Linked DNA regions of Homo sapiens: region 2 is linked to region 1. Evidence: promoter capture Hi-C in human tissues and cell types (Jung and others, 2019). All regions are on one chromosome and are shown on one strand. Each heading gives the region's core, a stretch centred on a gene start or on the middle of the fragment in contact. The rest is flanking DNA. Distances are from core to core; before and after follow the strand shown. Region 1 holds the start of ZNF26 (zinc finger protein 26). Region 2 has its middle 19 kb from the start of ZNF268.

Region 1 (2,988 bases), core at 292-2,791:
TATAAATATAGTCAACTGATCTCTGACAAAGGAACAAACTCACAGGGGGAGAAATCCACTCCTAACTTTCTCTCGTTTCTTTAGCACAACAGCCTTTCTCCACCGTGTGTCCTTTCCTTTCATTAACCTGAGTCCTCACCTCGGTCCTCTTGAGGGTTCCAGTTGGTCACACTCTGAGCTTCCACGAATACAATAAGGTGTCTTTATGTATTTCCAGTTTAGACCTCCCATGTGAGTTACAGGCTGAAATACAGGCATTGGATATTCAACACCTGCGAAAGTCATTCCCAGGGTCCCTCTTCCAATAGCATTCCTAGTCTCCGGCTGTATAGCTCAATGGTAGAGCACCACATCCGGCAACGTCGTCAACACCACTCACCGAGGGCAAAGGATTTGGCAATCAAATCACTTGTAAAGACTCCCCTCTGGTTCACTCCATCAATAATTCATAAAGTCCCGATGATCCACTGGCCCGCCCCTTACCTTTCGGACTCTCGAGCTCCGCTCCTAGCCTTTTCTCCCTATTCATTCACCTGTAATTGCGTCCATAGTTCACTAGACTACCCTCTCCACCAAACCAAAGCTCCTCTAAAATTAGGAACATACATAATTTATCTCTGCATTGCCAGCACCAGCCTTAGAGTCCAGCAGACAAAAGGACACTCCATAAACAAGCATTTGGCCAAACGAAAAAGGAGGAACTGATCATTTCTCCAGCTAAGTTCTAAGGGTCTCCATAAGACAACTTTGTGTAGAAAACATGAAATGATGGAGGATCCTCAGACTTCAGGGCCCGCAGCTGGCCATGAAGTGCAGTATAACTGCCCGTCACAGAATACCACAGGCACGTTTCTGCAGGGCCAGAGCTTGGGCGAGCTTCAGAGGCGCTTTGGTTTGGTGGGGAGGGTAGTCTAGTAAACTACGCACACAATTACAGCTGAATGTGAGTTCAGTTCCCGGAGTAACCCTGAAGAGATTAACGTGGCCACCCTCAGTATCCAGTCGAATTTTAAACACGGAAAGTCTCTACTTACCCAGCACGAAGCTGTCCGGAAACTGGTGGCCATCCCCACGCCCACGTTCGCGCGCTGCCTGCGGGGGCAGGACCCGCGGGCTGCGGAGAGACCGTGAGGGATGCGTCCGCCCGAAGACAGGTGCGGGACCAGGGCCCCAGGCTCCTGACCGTCCCGGGGCCGAGTCGTTGGCAGGGACGCCGGCTCCTCAGCTCTCGCCCAACACAGACCGCGCGTGACTAGACAACCTCCCGGTCTGGGTACCAGGAGTCGCACGGATGGATTTGTGCCTTTCCGTGGCCCTGACTCGGGAGAGCAGGAGGCTGATCTGGCCCCGTCCACGCCCCGGACCGACGGAAGTGTTTAGCTGGTCAAGTCTCTGGTCTGCCCAGGATAATCCGAGCCGCTTAGCTCCGCGCCTCCGCGGCCACAGAGACTCAGCCAGGTACACCCGCTGGCCAGATTCCGGTCCACTGAGTCTAAGCCGGAAACAGCCCTGCACGCGCGCACCCGACTAAGGCCGGGAGTGCGGCGCATGCGGAAGTGCGTCCTGCGTCGATGCGCCAGGACGCGAAGGCGCCGGAAAAACTACATCTCCCACAATCCTCGGAGAAGGCTCCCTCGTTACAGGCCTGGCTTCCAGCTGCCGCGGATCTAGAGAGGGGCACAGCCTGACGGGAAAGGAAGGCTGGGAGGGGGCTCCGCCAGCGGCACCTGGTTCACCCTCCCACGGCTGCGCCAGGTTCAGTACCATCCTCGGAGCCTGGACGCCCAGTTTCCCAGGGCCTGTAGAACTGACTCAGAGTCCGACCCCAGCAGAGACGCAGGCGTGCTGAGGTTTTGATATCAAACAAGATAGGGTTCAGACCAGAAGGCACAGCAAAAAAGGACGCTTTGTAAAGCTAAAAGCTGCAGTTCATAGGGTTAAATAACAGTTTTGAATATCAGTGCACCAAATAATACAGTAACCAACTTCATAAAGGAGAAACTATAGTAGATGTGAAAAACAAATAAATAGAACCACACCAGTAATGAAACTGCCTTTGCAAAAATTATATCAGTGAGAAAATTATAGCAGTGGGGGAGGTCTAATCTAACCAAACCCCCAACTCTGCGCGCCTTTGGCTGTCAAGATGCCTTCATTATTCCTGGGCTTAGGCCAAGCTAACTTTGGAAGACATTTAGGTTATAGTTCAAATGATAGCCCTTTTCCAAAACCCAACTGCCTTTGTAAAACCTATGAGAGACCACCAAGCTAGCGGGAGGAGAGGAGCCTGAATTCTGCTAAGATGTGGATTGGTCACAAGACACGCAACTTCCCCAGTTACTCCTACAGATAACACCACTATTGTAGATTGGCCTTTTGAGATTTAAAAATGTGCAAAATGGCCAGGCACGATGGCTCACGTCTGTAATCCCAGCATTTTGGAGGGCTGAGGTGGGTGGATCGCATGAGCCCAGGAGTTGGAGACTAGCCTGGGCAACATGGTGAAACCTCGTCTCTACAAAACATATCAAAAGTAAGCCGGATGTGGTGGCATGCATCTGTAGTCTCAGCTACTTGGGGGGCTAAGGCAGCAGAATTGCTTGAGCCCGTGAGGTGGAGGTTGCAGTGAGCCGAGATTGCACCATTGCACTCCAGCCTCGATGACAGGAGTGAAACCCTGTCTCAAAAAAAAAAAAAAAAAAAAAGTGCCAAACATCTGAATAGACATTTCTCAAAAGAAGACATACAAATGGCAAACAGGTATATGAAAAGGTACACAATATAATTGATCATCAGAGAAATGCAAATCAAAACTACAACGAGATATTATCTCACCCCAGTTAAAATGGCTTTTATCCAAAAGACAAGCAATAATAAATGCTGGTGAGGATATGGGGAAAAGGGAACCCTGGTACATTCTTGGTGGGAATGTAAATTAGTACAACCACTATGGAGAACAGTTTGGAGGTTCCTCAAAAAAATAAAAAT
Region 2 (2,988 bases), core at 248-2,747, 180 kb before region 1:
GGAGCCTGAAGATTTTAGTCCTTTCTCTTCCTTGTGTCTTTGCTCTACCAGTAGTAGGCTTTATATTTTCATATGTTTTCATGATGGTAGATATTGCTCTTTTGCTTCCAGGTGTAGGACTCCCATACGAATTTCTTGTTTAGCCAGCCAGTCTACTGGTGATGAATTCCCTAAGTTTTTATTTGCCTGGGAAAGACTTTCTTTCTTCTTCATTTATGACTTCATTTAACTTTTCTGGATATAGCATCCTTGTTTGCTGGAGAGTTACTGTGTTCCTTTGGAGGTGTCATTTTTTCCTTAGTTTTTTTTTTCATATTTCTTGTGTTCTCAACATTGATATATACACATCTGGTGAAAAAGTCACTTCTTCCATTTTTTTGAATTTGCTTTAGTAGAGGAGGACTTTTTCCTAAAGATGTATCTATGGTGACTGCAACTATGTGTCTATGGCTGACTGCAAGCTTTACTTCCCGGGCTTAAGCAATCCTCCTACCTCAGCCTCCCAAGTAGCTGGGACCACAGGCATACACCACCTGGCTAAGTTTTGTATTTTTTGTAGAGACTGGGTTTCACCATGTTTCCCAGGCTGGTCTCAAACACCAGAGCTCCAGTAATCTCCCTGCCTTGGCCTCCCGAAGTGCTAGGATTACAGGCATGAGCCACTGCACCTGGCCAGGTAGGGCACTTTTTAATTTAATTTAATTTTTAAATTTTTTTTTTGAGACAGAATCTCACTCTGTTACCCAGGGTAGAGTGCACTGGTGGGATCTGGGCTCACTGCAACCTCTGCCACCCGGGTTCAAGCGATTTCCCTGCCTCAGCCCCCTGAGTAGCTGGGATTACAGGTGCCCACCACCACACTTGGCTAATTTTTGTATTATTAGTAGAGATGGAGTTTCACCATGTTGGCCAGGCTGGTCTTGAACTCCTGACCTCAGGTGATCCGCCCACCTCCCAGAGTGCTGGGATTACAGGCATGAGCCACTGCGCCTGGCCCGGGGTAGGGCACTTTAGTTTTTATTTTGGGTCCATGCAGCAGTGTAGTCTCCATATAATTTCTTCAGCTGTAAGCAGTTTCAGTGGTACCTGTGATTTCCTCAGTGGCTTAGAGCACCATCGTTGGTGTAGACTGTAGTAGTTTTGCTGGAGATAGGGATTCCAGGTGGGCCAGCCCTTGTGCCCCAGGGCCCAAGGGAGTGGGAGTGGTGGGCCAAGCATGCTTGTCAACGGGGCTCCTGGGATGCAGATATGCAGGAGCTATTGAGCACCAATGCAGGGTGAAGTGTGGTAGGGTCTGGGCTCTCAAAATGGCACTGTGCTGCAGCTACTTAGGACTCAGGGTGTGTGTAAGACCCAGTGTATGCCCCATCTCTGTAGCAATGCCATCATGTGGTCTCCAGGCAGCTACTATGTTGGTCTTAGGGCCTGTGAGGGTTGAGGAAATTTCCCATGCTAGGATTGCAAGAAACCATGGTGGAAATGTGGACTGCTAGGGAATCTCTCACATACCCTTTCCTCACATTGGGGTGTTTCTCTGGGTTCTCAGTCAATCTCCAGTGGCTGAGCAGGCTACCTCACCTCCCTCTGCTTCCTTGCCTTAGGTGTTTTCTATCACTTCTCTGTTGAATTATATGTCCTCTCTTAGATGATCTACTCAAAGTGTGATTATATACTTGCCATTTTTGGTTCCTCTTTGTGAATGAGGTGAGTACCAAATGCCTTTAGTCAGTCATCTTGAAGCCCGCCCTCTAAACATAGGTTTTATATTCACTAGGAAACCAAAAATATTGTGTGACTTCCTTATGATGATTGATTGCTTTGTTGTGGTGGTGTAGAATGAAGCCTGCAGTATCTCCAAGGAATGCCTGTAATCTGTTCACTTTTTAAAATTTACTTTCTGTTCCTCACACATATAATTCCAATTGTTTTATCTCCAAGTTTGCTGATTTACCTTCTGTCTGCTCAAATATGCTGTTAAACCTCTATACTGAATTTTTCATTTCAGTTATACTTTTCATCTCCAGAATTTCTCTTCAGTTCTTTTTAATAATTTCTATCTGTTTATCGATATCACCATTTTGTCTAATAAGTTCAATGTCTAGGCAGTGAGGACTGATTCAGGAACACTCATGTGAAAAGCTTCTATTTCCCAAACATATTATCACAGCATTCTCCAGCACTTTTTAACTGAAAAACCCTTCAGATCAGTATATGACAAAATTCATTAGAATTTTAAAAAATTGGCCGGGTGCAGTGGCTCACGCCTGTAATCCCAGCACTTTGGGAGGCCGAGGTGGGCAGATCATGAGGTCAGGAGATCAAGACCATCCTTGGCTAACAGGGTGAAACCCCGTCTCTACTAAAAATACAAAAAAATTAGCCAGGCGTGGTGGTGGGCGCCTGTGGTCCCAGCTACTCGGGAGGCTGAGGCAGGAGAATGGCATGAACCCGGAAGGCAGAGCTTGCAGTGAGCCAGATCGCACCACTGCACTCCAGCCTGAGTTACAGAGCGAGACTCCGTCTCAAAAAATAAATAAATAAATAAAATAAAGATTAATTTCGGGAGGACTGCCATCTTAACAATACTGAGTTTTCCCATCCTTGACCAAGGTATATTTCTCCGTTTCTTTTGTGTTATTTATTCTTATTATATGTTCCTTAACTTCTTCCAGCAATGTTTTATAGTTTTCACTGTGCAGGTCTTTCATGTTTCATTAAATTTATCTAAGTATTTCACATTTTTTCTATCATTGTAAATGGGATTATATTTCTAATTTCATTTCCTAATTGGTCACTGTTAGTCCAAGCTGCAACATTTTATAAACCCCCAACCATTTCACAGACCCTGGTCAAGGCGATTCTTCAGGGGCTTGGGCCATGAGAAACATCCTACCTAACCACCTGACAACAGGAACATCTTTATCAAATGCTGCCAGGCAGCAAGCCATACCACCCAGACCCCTTCCACCCAGACCTATAATTACCCCA

Evidence for each region. Contacts are between HindIII fragments. The study calls those that stand out against the background at their distance.
Region 2: a contact is called between a fragment that was not itself captured here and the fragment with the promoter of ZNF26 in region 1, in 2 of the 25 tissues and cell types used here (dorsolateral prefrontal cortex and lymphoblastoid cells).

The regions. Positions count from the first base shown.
Region 1 is chr12:132,984,920-132,987,907 of GRCh38, reverse strand. ZNF26 (zinc finger protein 26) reads right to left here and starts at 1,541. Exons shown (of 4, transcript NM_019591.4): 1 at 1,035-1,541. The coding sequence starts at 1,067. RefSeq lists enhancers at 921-970, 696-1,195, 1,451-1,920. The HindIII fragment of the contact is 17,637 bases long and covers 1-2,988 here.
Region 2 is chr12:133,160,532-133,163,519 of GRCh38, reverse strand. No RefSeq gene overlaps it. Among named protein-coding and RNA genes, the nearest start is that of ZNF268, 19 kb to the left of the region's middle. The HindIII fragment of the contact is 4,932 bases long and covers 1-2,988 here.